5 separate regions of the Homo sapiens genome follow, and all the other regions are linked to region 1. The links are contacts of gene promoters, found by promoter capture Hi-C in human tissues and cell types (Jung and others, 2019). All regions are on one chromosome and are shown on one strand. Each heading gives the region's core, a stretch centred on a gene start or on the middle of the fragment in contact. The rest is flanking DNA. Distances are from core to core; before and after follow the strand shown. Region 1 holds the start of FOXF2 (forkhead box F2). Region 2 has its middle 170 kb from the start of LINC01622. Region 3 overlaps LINC01622 (long intergenic non-protein coding RNA 1622). Region 4 overlaps LINC01622 (long intergenic non-protein coding RNA 1622). Region 5 has its middle 150 kb from the start of LINC01622.

The links. The method cuts DNA at HindIII sites, captures the fragments that hold promoters and counts their contacts. A contact is called where the count stands out against the background at its distance.
Region 2: a contact is called between a fragment that was not itself captured here and the fragment with the promoter of FOXF2 in region 1, in 1 of the 25 tissues and cell types used here (mesenchymal stem cells).
Region 3: a contact is called between a fragment that was not itself captured here and the fragment with the promoter of FOXF2 in region 1, in 2 of the 25 tissues and cell types used here (lymphoblastoid cells and mesenchymal stem cells).
Region 4: a contact is called between a fragment that was not itself captured here and the fragment with the promoter of FOXF2 in region 1, in 1 of the 25 tissues and cell types used here (lymphoblastoid cells).
Region 5: a fragment that was not itself captured here is called in contact with the fragment with the promoter of FOXF2 in region 1 in 1 of the 25 tissues and cell types used here (hippocampus).

The regions. Positions count from the first base shown.
Region 1 is chr6:1,388,198-1,390,897 of GRCh38, forward strand. It overlaps FOXF2 (forkhead box F2), which reads left to right and starts at 1,379. Exons shown (of 2, transcript NM_001452.2): 1 at 1,379-2,700. The coding sequence starts at 1,751. FOXF2-DT (FOXF2 divergent transcript) reads right to left here and starts at 1,264. Exons shown (of 3, transcript NR_187218.1): 1 at 822-1,264. It overlaps MIR6720 (microRNA 6720), which reads right to left and starts at 2,214; the gene lies at 2,117-2,214. RefSeq lists an enhancer at 2,561-2,700. The HindIII fragment of the contact is 13,823 bases long and covers 1-2,700 here.
Region 2 is chr6:933,593-936,292 of GRCh38, forward strand. No RefSeq gene overlaps it. Among named protein-coding and RNA genes, the nearest start is that of LINC01622, 170 kb to the right of the region's middle. The HindIII fragment of the contact is 9,703 bases long and covers 1-2,700 here.
Region 3 is chr6:994,167-996,866 of GRCh38, forward strand. The region is part of intron 2 of LINC01622 (long intergenic non-protein coding RNA 1622); the gene reads right to left. Among named protein-coding and RNA genes, the nearest start is that of LINC01622, 110 kb to the right of the region's middle. RefSeq lists an enhancer at 1,033-1,552. The HindIII fragment of the contact is 4,216 bases long and covers 1-2,700 here.
Region 4 is chr6:977,093-979,792 of GRCh38, forward strand. All of the region lies in intron 2 of LINC01622 (long intergenic non-protein coding RNA 1622), which reads right to left. Among named protein-coding and RNA genes, the nearest start is that of LINC01622, 120 kb to the right of the region's middle. The HindIII fragment of the contact is 6,048 bases long and covers 1-2,700 here.
Region 5 is chr6:954,843-957,542 of GRCh38, forward strand. No RefSeq gene overlaps it. Among named protein-coding and RNA genes, the nearest start is that of LINC01622, 150 kb to the right of the region's middle. The HindIII fragment of the contact is 4,750 bases long and covers 1-2,700 here.

The sequences.
Region 1 (2,700 bases), core at 129-2,628:
ACTGCACAACCTCCCTTTCTCCTGCCTCCTGCAACTCCCCAGGCTCCCCAGCAGGCACACCCGTGCACCTCGGTCCTTTCAGCCTAGACGCAGCGGGGTGCCCAGCTCTACCTCCTGTTTGGTCCGCTGGTCTGCAGCACCTTCTTTCTGGGCCTCCCCCTTCAGCCCTTGGGAGGCCCCGCCAGCTCCGGCCTCCTGCTCTCCTCCTCCCTCTCCCAGCTCCTATCCCTGGTCGGACTACATTTCCCTGCACGTGTAATCCAATAACTAACTGTCGGGTCTCATTGGAAGTGATTGCTCCCGAGGGCACATCTCTCTCAGAGCCTGACTCTTACTTAGGGAGGAATTAGCCACAACTGGGGAGAAGTGTTCTCGGACAGGAGTTAGCTGAGACCTGGCACAGTTTTGGGTGGGCAATGTTAAGACGGAGGATGTAAACCTAGTGACAGCTGCACACCCCTTCAGGACTGACTATAAATATAGCCATCTCGCTTATCTCAGGGTCTTTCTTTTTCTTTCTCTTTCTTTCTTTTCTTCCTTCCTTCCTTTTTCTTTTGCACTTTTTTCTTACAGAACACTAACTGGGGTGCGGGGGTGGGGGGAAGAAGTGGAAGCAAATGCAACCCTAAGTCCCATGAGATCCAGGTTTCCAGAGTCTTTGAAACTTGGCCTAGGTTTCTCAGTGTAAATCCCTCTGCTCAAAGTTCCGAAAACGTCCACGATCGCCAGCGGCCCGCAACCCTGCGGCGGCCCCCAGTCGCCCTAACAATTGTCGGGGAGCCTGCAGGCCCTGCCAGAAAGAGAGAGGATTGGCACGTTACCTTTGGGCGTCTGGCACCCCGGCGTGTGGCTGAGGGCGGCAAAGTCTAAACGAAGTTGACAGATGGAGTCAGTATCGGCCCTGGGGAGGGCGGCCAGGGAGGCTCCGAGCAGCCGCACCCGCAGCAGCACCACTCGGCCCGGCGGGCCAGGAGGAGGAAGGGGGCGCGGAGGGGCGGGGCTGGGTCCTGGGATGGGACGCGGGGCTTGCTGCGGGGGGCAAACAGAAAGAATATTTCATGAAGTCAGAGGTGGTCGAGTTTTGCGAGGGGTGGGGGTCGTCCCCCTGGCAGAACCGGAGTGAGTCTGTGATCCCTCAATTGGAAAGAGGGTGAGTGAGGGAAAGGGGAGGAGGCCGCGAGAGGAATGAAGAGCGAGGAGACCCTGGAGAGCGGGGAGCGAGATAAGAGAGGGAGGCGGCCGCCAGGTCGGGAGGGGGAGGAGTGAGCGCGGCGGCGCGGAGCGAGGAGGGGGCAGGGCGGGGTGGGGGGGGAGGGAGGGAGGGAGGGAGCGAGGAGGGCGGCCGGGGAGGGCGAGGGAGGGAGGAAGTCCGAGAGACAGAGCGAGGAGCGCTCCTGAAGGGAGACGTCGGGCTCGTCCCCGGGGTCCAGGCCGCGGTCCCACTCGCGGGCGCAGTCGCCCGGCGCCGGCCGCTCGGCCCCGCGGCCTGGGAGGCCGTTGCGCAAGGCAGGGCCCGCGGCTCGGGGAGGGATGCGCCGGGCGTTGCCTCCCGCCCGCCGCCGCCGCCGCCGCCAGAAGCCCCAGAGGAGCTGAGGGAGGCGACGCCGAAGCGCTGGCCCGGAGTGGCCACGGCTGCAGCCCGGGCGGCGGGCTAGGGCGCTCGCAGGGCTTCTGGGCCGACCCCGCTCCGGCGCCTCCGCTTCCCGCCCGGGGCCCGCCCTCGCGGCCCGGCCTCGCTCCCGGGTCCCAGATGACCACCGAGGGCGGGCCGCCGCCGGCCCCGCTCCGCCGCGCGTGCAGCCCGGTCCCCGGCGCGCTCCAGGCCGCCCTGATGAGCCCGCCGCCCGCCGCCGCCGCCGCCGCCGCCGCCGCCCCGGAGACCACCTCCTCCTCCTCGTCGTCGTCCTCCGCCTCCTGCGCCTCGTCCTCGTCCTCCTCCAATTCGGCCAGCGCCCCCTCGGCTGCCTGCAAGAGCGCGGGCGGCGGCGGCGCGGGCGCCGGGAGCGGGGGCGCCAAGAAGGCGAGCTCGGGGCTGCGGCGGCCCGAGAAGCCGCCCTACTCGTACATCGCGCTCATCGTCATGGCCATCCAGAGCTCGCCCAGCAAGCGCCTGACGCTCAGCGAGATCTACCAGTTCCTGCAGGCGCGCTTCCCCTTCTTCCGCGGCGCCTACCAGGGCTGGAAGAACTCGGTGCGCCACAATCTCTCGCTCAACGAGTGCTTCATCAAGCTGCCTAAGGGCCTCGGGCGGCCCGGCAAGGGCCACTACTGGACCATCGACCCGGCCAGCGAGTTCATGTTCGAGGAGGGCTCGTTCCGCCGCCGGCCGCGCGGCTTCAGGCGGAAGTGCCAGGCGCTCAAGCCCATGTACCACCGCGTGGTGAGCGGCTTGGGCTTCGGGGCGTCGCTGCTGCCCCAGGGCTTCGACTTCCAGGCGCCCCCGTCGGCGCCGCTCGGCTGCCACAGCCAGGGCGGCTACGGCGGCCTCGACATGATGCCCGCGGGCTACGACGCCGGCGCGGGCGCCCCCAGCCACGCGCACCCTCACCACCACCACCACCACCACGTCCCGCACATGTCGCCCAACCCGGGTTCCACCTACATGGCCAGCTGCCCGGTGCCCGCGGGACCCGGGGGCGTCGGTGCGGCCGGGGGCGGCGGCGGCGGCGACTACGGGCCGGACAGCAGCAGCAGCCCGGT
Region 2 (2,700 bases), core at 132-2,631, 450 kb before region 1:
CCAAAAATATACATGGATGAAGCCACACCAACTTGAGTGGAGAAGTTGTGTCAGGGGGACAGGAAATGGAGACAGAGAGGTTTATCTGTAGTTACCTGTATTCATGGTGCTTTATTTTGAAAAAAAAAAAAAAAAAAAAAAAAAGCCTGCATCAACGTAGTAAATATTAGCTTTTGTCTGGCCTCAGTAGAAGGTGGTAGTTGTTATTGTATTACTCTGCTTTTCTGTATGTTTGAAATGTTTCTCAATTCAAGATAAGGAAAATATGTAACGCAGTAACTAAGTATTATTATTGTTATTAATTAAAGATGTGAAAGATTCTCAGAAGCAAAATCTTAGGGACTCTTATTTAATCACTGAAGACCCATTTCTCCGCAGTCTAAACAGTGCACTGGGCATTGGACTCACAAAATGAAGACGCCATTGCCCCTGTCCTTGACGCCTGAACAGGATAGAAAGGGGACCCACAGTTGGCAGCCATCATGGGCATGGCATATGGGTCCGATCCCAAAGAGCTTTGTACAGGAGTTGCAAGGAAGGTTTCACCAAGGAAAAGATCAAGAACCAAATGCTGTGGGACGCATAAGTGCCAGCCCAAGGGACCAGGCAGGCCTGGGGGAAGGATGGGGGAGCAGAGCCTCCTGCAGACAAGTGGATGTCTGAGCTATTCAATGGACGTTGCTGCAGCCCCGTCTGTGTGCTGGGGGCTTTGCTAGGAAGGTGGGGAACAGAACAGCTGGGGTCCCTAACTTCACAGGATTCATCGTCCACGTTAAAGGTTCAGCATGTGCAATGTTCTCCACAACTTGTAAGGCTGTCGCACAGGCAAAGTGTAGGAAATAGAGGCTCAACTCTGTCTCCTGTGCTTCTGCATTGGGGGATTGGTAGTGCAAGGTTTGGGGGATGCTGGTAAACACAGAACACCTGTGTGACTTGTCATCAAAGCCCTGCATGCAGCAGTAACACAAGAGAGAAGTTGTGAGGTGGGGAGAGCTGGTTTACTACCCTACAAGGTAGCTGTGTGCAAATTAGGAAAATGAGTCCTGTCTGTCCAGATTTAGAAAAGCATCCCTTTGCCAGGGCACACAGAGTACAGTGTAGAATGGATTTCAGCCTGCTGTCTTTGTTCAGTGTAAGAACTGTGCAACTGTACATGATTATCCTGAGCAGAAGCTCCTTGAACCCGGCTCAGGCTAAATGGATGAATGGCACATGCCTCTTTGTTGTGGGTGTGTGCGCAGTGGCTGCATGGAGGCTGGAGAGACTGCCCACAAGGCTCTGGATACTCTCCAGCCTTGTCCTCATGCGGTCCCCAGCCCTGCCCTTCAGGGGACACTGGCAGGGCTTCTGCTCCATCCTCCTGGAGAGGCAGGTCACCTGGTGTCTGTCAGTCCACTGCCAAAGCCCTGCAGGAATCTGCCAGAGCAAAGGGGAGAGTGTAAGTTTTATCTGGAGTCACAAAAAGATATGATGGTGAAGAGGAGTTTGACCTCTACAGGAAGCATGAGGAGAAAGCATGAAAGAGGCCTGAAAGGATGAGAACTTGGAGAGAGGTTTCCAGGGGAGCCAGAGAAAGGTTTCTGTAAGCAAGGATGCTGGCTGTGAGCAGAATTCCACCCCACAGATGCTGCGTGTGGCTGAAATTTGGAGGATGACCTGTGGAAGAGCTAAGCAGGAAGGAGGGAGGACAGGGTCGCTAGAATCAGGCGGCCAGACTGAGCTTTGGAGAGCGCGTGAGCAACGGGATGTGGGAGAGGCTGTGTCTAGGAGATTGGCTCGTGCATTCATCCACTCACAGTAATTGTTTACCCGCCGGGCACTGCTGGGCTGCAGACTCCACTCTCCAGGGACTTGTGTCCGAATCCAGAGACAAGAAAAGAGGCCATGAAACATGCCACAGTGATTGGCACACAGAACCCCATGAGCTGGGGCACAACTGGCTGGTAATCACTGTGCACATGACCCCAGGGTGGGAGGCTAAGGTACGTGTTGGGAGAGGAGGGCATGAGAAAGAGCGTTCCATCCTGGCCAGAGCCACACCTGCAATCTTCTCCAAATCTGCACCAGGGTTAGGGAGGAAACTCGTTCCCCAGGCTCTGATATCAGAGCTGGAGGCTGAGGCAATGGACACTGTGTACACACCCCAGCAGCCCCAGGGCAGCCCCTGGCTTCCCCACGCCTTCTGTGTGACCCCAGTCCGTGTGGTTCAGTTGTGTGGCCCCAGAGCTGTTCTATTTAACCTGAACCAGGGGACTGATACTTCCAGCCCAAATTCCAGGTCTTGGGAGTTCTCCTCGGAAGAGGAGATCTGTTTCCAATGTCTCTGATGGCCAGTCCAGAGTTGTGTTCGTCTGTCTACACCTTCCTGTCGGCCGTTCTCTCCTCTGCTGCCCCAAGGGCCCTTCTGCTACCCATGCACCCCATGCCGTCCAGTCTGCCACAGAGATTCACGCTCACAATTCGTAAATTGTCTCCTCGCTTCTCCAAAACTCCGATCCATTCTAGGCAGCCATGATGAATTCACATAGAGATAGGAATTGCCCAGTATTACATTAGATCCTTGTTAGCCAATTAAATATGTTTATAGTATTACCATGTTATGTGTTTTATTAATAGGCTTGATTTTTTTTTAGAGCAGGTTTGGGTTCACAGCAAAATTGAGAGGAAGGAAAAGAGAATTCCCAGCCCCTCCCGGCCCCC
Region 3 (2,700 bases), core at 71-2,570, 390 kb before region 1:
GTATCCATATATCTATCTATCTATCTAACATGTATCAACCATCTACCAATCCATCATCTATATATGTATGTGTGTATGTATGTATGTATGTATATCTATCTATCTATCTGTCTGTCTGTCTGTCTGTCTGTCTGTCTGTCTATCTATCTATCTATCTGATCTATCCTCTAGCAAGCTGGCCATTCAGGATAGCAGTTAACTGGGCACAACACAGCTTCTATCTATAGTGGGGGATATTCTATTTCTTCAGCTGTTTGGAAGATAGATGGGCATTTGTTTCACTTTTATTTGAATGGAACATGGATATTCTATTTACCCTTCTGTGTGAAAAATATATTTCACAAATTTTCTCTGCAGGTAAGGGTTTTTTTCCATTTCCTTATACCACCATTTATTTTATACAAAGATGTTTTAATTAAATATTTACATATCCATAGACATAAAGAGACTGAACATTAAGAAAAAAAAAAAAGATTAGATTGATCTCCAAGCCAGGGGAGCCGTAAACATTTGTAAAGTAACTACGACTATTTTAGCTAAGTAATAATGAATAGTTTTATTTATAAGGCAAGCTTTCCTTTCTGAATTATAAATTGTTTTCACTCAATGTCTTTCAAATTCCTATTCTTAAATGGCTGTTGTAGGTGAGGTTGCCCAGGAAGCTGCTTTGCTATGGTGATGATGGTTCAGGAAATTTATTTGGGAATGCTCTCAGGACCAACACCTGTGGGGAGGGAAAGCGGCAGATGGGCAGAGGGACAGGCTGGGCTTCCACGTGGTCAAAAGAAAAGCCTCAGCCACCCCACAGGAAGATCTCTGGAGTGGGAGCAGCCCTTTAAGGTTGTGCGGAATCGGGGTGAGAGGGGCAGGGCCCTCTTATCACAAGTACATCACTCAACTGAGGCTGCTCCAGGGACCATGGTCAGGGTGGGTCCCTTCAGCAGAGGGCAATGTCTAGAGAGAGGGCAGGCAGGGGATGGTGCTGGCAGCACTCACAGCAGCGGGGCATGAAGCCCTCAGTCCTTCAGATCTCAGGGAGGCCGGGCTGCGTGTCCCAGGACCACACCCCCATGGTAAGAACACGTGTTAGGCACCATGGAGTGTCAAGATGCATAAGGTCTGGTCCTGCCCCCGAGAAGCTCATGCTCTAGTGCCGTGTGGCTGAGGGTGGGCAGAAACTATGAGAGGGGAGGGTCCAGATGGAAGCTCTGGAACTGCAGTGAAGGCTTGGGAGGAGCTGGGAGCCACCTCTCCCTGACCACAAGGAGAATGAAGGCAGGCTGCAGGGACACACCTCAGGGAGGGCATCTGCACGGTTACAGGATTTGCTCCCAAAACTCTGGCAGCCAGGGAGGAGGAGGAGGACGGGTGGTTTTCAGGTATAGGACTGGTGAGGGAAAAAGAGCTGAGGCCAGGAAGGAAGAGTCCCAGGACACACATGATCTCACTGCTGTGCTGTCTGCGACCCCCAGCCCCTGCCTCCTTCCCTCTCCATCCTCAACTGCTTCCTGCCAGCTTCTGGGTGTGGGAATCCAAGAACAGCGCAGAGGGCTGAGTGAGCAGCAGAGCTGGGCATACAGAGGCGTACAGGTGGGAAATTAAATGAGGCCGGCAATCCACCAGCTGACACTGGGTAGGCACATTGTGATAGATCACAGCTGACGGAATATGATTCAGGCATGAAGAATCACACATTATCAGGTAGCGTGACACATGCTATGATATGGTGGACCTGGAAGACATTACGGGAAAGAAACCAGCCACAAAAGACCACATGGTATGGCTGCATTGATATGAAATGTGCAGAAAAGGCAAATCCTTACAGACAGAAAGTAGGTTAGTGGTTGCCAGGCGCTGGGGCCTGGGGAAAGTGGGGAGGTACTGCTTATAGGGACGGGGTTTCTTTTAGGGGTGGTTTAAATGTTCTCAAATTGATTGTGGGGAAGGTTGCACAACTCTGGGAATGTACTAAAAACCACTGAAGTCTACACTTTAAATGGGTGAAGAGTGTGGTATGTGAATTATCTCTCAGTAGAGTTGTTACTAAAAAGAAAGTGAAGCCATGGGCATGAGGACAAGGCCCATAGTGGAGATGCAGACAGGTGGCTGAATAAACTTTTCCCATTTTTCTTTTTCTTTGATCTGGTTCTCCTGGCCTATTGATCTCTCCTTTACACAGGCAGTGCTGGGAGTCTGGTGGTGGGTGCGCATTCCTTTCTGTGCCTATTCATCATATATTCTCCATCAGACACCCCTCAATTACCTCAAAGAAACGTAGGCTCAAAACAAATCTAGGTACAGTAACAGAGGTATCAGAACATTCTTGAAAATGAAACTATAACTTTGAGACACTCCCTAGTCCCCCATTGTGAGCAGGTGCACCCAATCCATTTCATCTTGTGTGCTGTGCTTTGTCATACCGCCTGCTGGAATCTTGCACTCCCTCCCGACGCCGCTCACTCCTGGTCTGCGGCACTAACCCCCTCTGACACTCTGGGCCATTGCTGTCTGCCTCCCTCTGTCAGAATGCCAGGTGTGAGCTGAGAGCAGGTGGCACTGCCTGGCACAGGGCAGCGGCTCAGCAAATTCTTGCTGAGGGGATGAATAAATTCCACATTTCAGTGTCCCTGAAAACAACATTTCCCACGTGCCTGGATGGATGCTGCAGACAAACCAAGGTCACACTGCTATGGCCTGGAG
Region 4 (2,700 bases), core at 160-2,659, 410 kb before region 1:
CTGGAACTACAGGTGCCTGCCATCACACCCAGCCAATTTTTTGTATTTTTAGTAGAGACAGGGTTTCACCATGTTAGCCAGGATGGTCTCGATCTGCTGACCTCGTGATCCACCTGCCTCAGCCTCCCAAAGTGCTGGGACTACAGGCATGAGCCACCATGCCCAGTTGAGGCTTGTTTTGTGGCCTATCATATGGTCTATCTTGGAGAATGTTCCAAGTGATGATAAAAAGAATGTATGTTCTGCAGTTGTTGGGTAGAATGTTCTGTAAATATTTGTTAAGTCCATTTGTTTTAGGGTGTAGTTTAAGTCCATTGTTTCTTTGTTGACTTTCTGTCTTGATGACCTGTCTAGAGCTGTCAGTGGAGTGTTGAAGTCCCCCACTATTATTGTGTTGCTATCTCATTTCTTAGGTCTAGTAGAGCTCCAGTGTTAGGTGCATATATATTTAAGATTGTGATATTTTCCTATTGGACTAATCTTTTTATCATTATATAATATCCCTCTTTATCTTTTTTTTTTTAACTGTTGTTGCCTTAAAGTGCTTTTTGTCTGATGTAAGAAGAGCTACTCCTGCTTGCTTTTGGTGTCCATTTGCATGGATTATCTTTTTGCACTCCTTTACCTTAAGTTTATGTGAGTCCCTATGTGTTAGGTGAGCCTCTTGAAGACAGTAGATACTTGGTTGGTGGATTGTTATCCATTCTGCCATTCTGTATCTTTTAAGTGGAGCTCTTAGACCATTTACATTCAATGCTAGTATTGAGATGTGAGGTACTGTTCCATTCATCATGCTAGTTGTTGCCTGAGTACCTTGCTTCTTTTTCATTGTGTTATTATATTATAGGTCCTGTGAGATTTATGTTTTAAGAAGGTTCTATTTTGGTGTATTTTGCAGTTTTGTTTCAAGATTTAGGATTCCTTTTAAGCATTTCTTGTAGTGCTGACTTGTTTGTGGTGAATTCTCTCAGCATTTGTTTGTCTGAAAACCTCTCCTTCATTTATGAAGCTTAGTTTTACTGGATACAAAATTCTTGGCTGATAATTATTTTGTTTAAGGAAGCTAAAGATAGGATCCCAATCCCTTCTGGCTTGCACAGTTTCTGCTGAGAAATCTGCTGTTAATCTGATAGGTTTTCCTTTATAGTTTACCTGATGCTTTTGCCTCACAGCTCTTAATATTCTTTCCTTTGTCTTGACTTTAGATAACCTGATTACTATGTGTCTAGGTGATGATCTTTTTGCGATGAATTTCCTGGGTGTTCTTTGAGCTGCTTGTATTTGTACGTCCAGAATTCTAGCAAGACCAGGGAAATTTTCCTTGATTATTACCTCAAGTAAGTTTTCCAAACTTTTAGATTTCTCTTCTTCCTCAGGAACACCAGTTAAATGTTTGTTCATTTCACATAATCCCAAATTTCTTAGAGGCTTTTTTCATTAAATTTTTTTTCTTTTTCTTTGTCAGATTGGGTTAGTTCAAAAGCCATGTCTGCAAGCTTTGAAGTTCTTTCTTCTACTCCTTTGATTCTATTGTTGAATCTTTTCAGTGTATTTTGCATTTCTCTAAGTGTGTCTTTCATGTCCAGAAGTTATGATTGTCTTTTCCTTATGATATCTATTTCTCTGGATACTTTTTCTTCCATATCTGGTATTGCTTTTTAATTTTCTTTAAGTTGCTTTTCACCTTTCCCTGGTGCTTCCTGGAGTAGCTTAATAATCAACCTTCTGAATTCTTTTCCTGGCAATTTGGAAATTTCTTCTTGGTTTGGGTTCATTGCTGGAGAGCTAATGTGATCTTCTGGGGGTGTTACAGAACCTTGTTTTGTCATATTATCATAATTAGTTTTCTGGTTCCGTTTCAATTGAGTAGACTTTCAGTGGAATGATCTGAAACTCAACGGCTGCTTTTCAGTTTATTTTGTCCCATGGGGTGATCCCTTGATGTGGTGCTCTCCCCCTTCCTCTAGGGACAGGGCTTCCTAAGAGCCAGACTGCAGCAACTGTTATTGTCCTCTGGATCTAGCCATCTAGTGGGGGCTACTGGGCTCCAGGCTGGTGCTGGGGAAGGTCTGCAAAGAGGTAAGGCCAGGAAGGGCTTCCCTTGGCTCAAGCTGGAGATCAGGAGTGCCTACTGCTGATCTTCCCACCGCTTCTTCTACTGCTATATTTTGCTGGGCTCCCTAAATCAATTTCAGCTCTAAGTAAGGTTAAATCTTTCCCCATGATCTGGAATTTCAGGTTCTCCATTGGGGAAGTAAGTTCAGAGGCCAACTTTTCCCCCTCTCACTCTTAGGGAACTCACAGTTTTTCGACTGTCTCACAGTGTTTGCAATGGCAAGCCACTTTTTTCAAAGGCTCTTTGAATTCTTTTGGTTTTCCTGGTATGTTCCTGTGGTGGTTCTTGGAGCAAAAGTTCACAATGTGAGTCTCCAAACACTGTTCTGTTCAACTAAGTGGGAGCTGCACATTAGTTCTGTCTCCTATCCACCATTTTTTCCTACAACCCTATTATGGTGCTTATCTTCAAAATTTCTTATGGGTATAAAAAGAAACAATGCATCTGATTTGCTTAGCACAGTTCCTGCTTTTATGGTAAGAGTAAAAGGAATCCTGACCAAGTTACACATCTAAATGGAATACAATTTTATAGGGGCCTTTTTGAAAACCCTGCCTCCTCTCTGTCCGCACCCACTTCCTCCA
Region 5 (2,700 bases), core at 138-2,637, 430 kb before region 1:
ATAATCTCTATTGCTCATTAACTGAGATGTTCTGGGCTCAATTCTGTTTTATTTTCCAATTAGGTTCTATTATTTTTCCTTATTGGCCCTTGAAAACTAGCTGTGGAAACAAACTTAATGGTTCTGAAAATGTCAGCGTCAACAACATGCCCTAATGGAAAACCCCATAATATATGAATATAAAAAAGGAATGCATTTAATTATTGGAAATTGCAACATAGTTTATTATTATACATTTATCTCTTATTCTCATTTTTTAAAGGGCATGACTTCAGATCTATTAGTGAGATAAAAGCTTTCTCTCAGTAGTTTATTTCATTCTCAGTGGATAAAACCAACAGCCTCATGGTGCTCATGGTGCTGTAGAAAGGCAGCCCCCCAGCAGTGGGAAGGTCCGCTCCTTAAAGCCCTCCCTTCTTTAAGCCGCCTGGACAGCGTCTGCTTTAGTTCCTGCTTGGTGCATCCCTTTGGGCTATGTGGTGGGCTGTGGAATGGCCCCCGGGGTGCCCGCATCCTACTCCCTGGAATCTGTGGCTATGTCCCTTTACGAGGCAAAGGAGACTTTGCAGATGTGATTTAGTTAAATGTACTGAGGTGGGGGGTGATCTTGGATTATCTGGGTGGGGCCCATGTAATTACAGGGTCCTTGTGAGAGGAAGGCAGGAAGGCCAGAGAGAGAAGGAGACGTGACAGAGAAAGCCGACTGAAGCAGGTGACAGGACAGTGTGTCCAAGGAGTGTGGGCAGCCCTGGAGTCCGGGAAAGGCAGGGGCAATGATCCTCCAGAGGAGTGTCCAGCATGAGCCAGCTATGCCTACACCTGGGTCTTAAGCCAGTCAGACCCATTTTGGACATCCTGCCTCCAGGACTGTTGGGCAGTAGATCTATGATGCCTGAAGCCGCCTGGTCTGTAGTGATTTTCTGCAGAGGCAACAGGAAGCCAACACAGGGCCAGGGGGCTCTGGGGGGAGTGTGGCTCTGGGCTGAGCACTGGAGCTGGGCAAGGAAGAAACTCCTGGACATTAAGGAGCTGCCCCTGGGGTGCCTTGGAAGGCATACTCACCTGGGAAGGACTAGGGGTTTCCTTGTAAGGGCGCTTTTAGTAACCCAACTCACAGCTTCTGAAGCTCAGGCCTGAGGAGCCCTGTCTAGGTCTGCACCCACTGAACATATCTGGAGCTTGCCTTTTCTTAAGGTCCTCCTGAAAAGGCTTCCATTTATAATAGGCAAATAGGTTGGAATTTTAGAACTGGGTTTACCTGGTCTCCAGCTATGTTTGCTTGGTCTTTTCCAGGAATATGTTTTAGCCTTTAGCACAATTTTAAACAAGTAGATAGAAATGAAGAAGTCTGACTTTGTGAAGACTTTTCTACCTGCCCACGATTTTTACCTTTCTCAGGTTAATAGCTTTGTTTTTGTCTCTAGGCCAATAAAATTCATCTTTTTGAGGAAGAGGAGCACCTATTACTCCATCCGGCAGTCACTGTGTGAAGTTGACAGATAGTCGAGGTGTTTCTGTGTGTGCACTAAGGCTTCTCCACCAAAAAGTCCTCAGGGAGAAAACTTTCTGGATCATTTTATCAAAAAGATAATCAAGGCTGGGCACGGTGGCTCACGCCTGTAATCCTAGCACTGTGGGAGGCAGAGGTGGGCAGATCATGAGGTCAAGAGATCGAGACCATCCTGGCCAATATGGTGAAACCCTGTCTCTACTAAAAATACAAACATTAGCTGGACCTGGTGGTGCACGCCTGTAGTCCCAGCTACTCGGAAGACCGAGGCAGGAGAATCGCTTGAACCCGAGATGTGGAGGTTGCAGTGAGCCGAGATCACATCACTGCACTCCAGCCTGGTGACAGAGCGATACTCTGTCTAAAAAAAAAAGATAATCAAAATACAGCAAGGTTTAGCCCTCATGAGCAGGGTAAAATGGTGGCCAAGGCTGGTGTTTAGCTCATGCCCCTCTGTGCCATAGCCAGTGGTCTTTCTTGGTGGAAGAGTCAGTGTTGTGAAGAGGGACTGCCTCCAGCCTCAGCTGGGCTGTCTCTTCCCAGCACCACCATAGGGTCATGTTTCCATCTGTGGGCTTGTTACCATATTAAATAGACGTAGAGTGCTCAATGTGTGTGTGCAAATCCTGGCTGCACCATGAACCAGGCGTGAGACCTTAGATGGGTTGCCTAAACTTTCTAAGGAACTCAAGCAATAGGAACTCAAAAATGACAGGTATTGCTATCATTTTGGCAAGCTACAGATTCATTCAGACATTTAGAAAAAAATTAAGTTGAAGCCTTCAATTGCCAGAAAATAGCTCACAAAAAGATGCTTGTTAGTTATATGTCTGACATTGTAATAAACCTTTTCTAAGTTTTCCCAAGAACAGTTGGTTCTGTTGCTACACCCAGCTCACAGCTCTAAGAGGCTTAGAAGGGTCAGGTGATTTATCCAAAGTCACACACCTAGTTGGTGGCACAGCCAAGAATCGAATGCAGGCTGCAAGACTCTTGCACGAATGCTTTGCCTACTTCCCTATACCGCATAGAGCAGGAACAGCATCTCATTATAGTAGACACTGACTCAATTTGTTAGTTTTACAAATACGAAGCAGTTGGCACGAGAAGATCCCGTGTGTTGGTGACATGTATCTTCCTAACCAAACCCTGCCTGAAAACTGGTTTCATGTCTTCCTCCAAGGGAATAC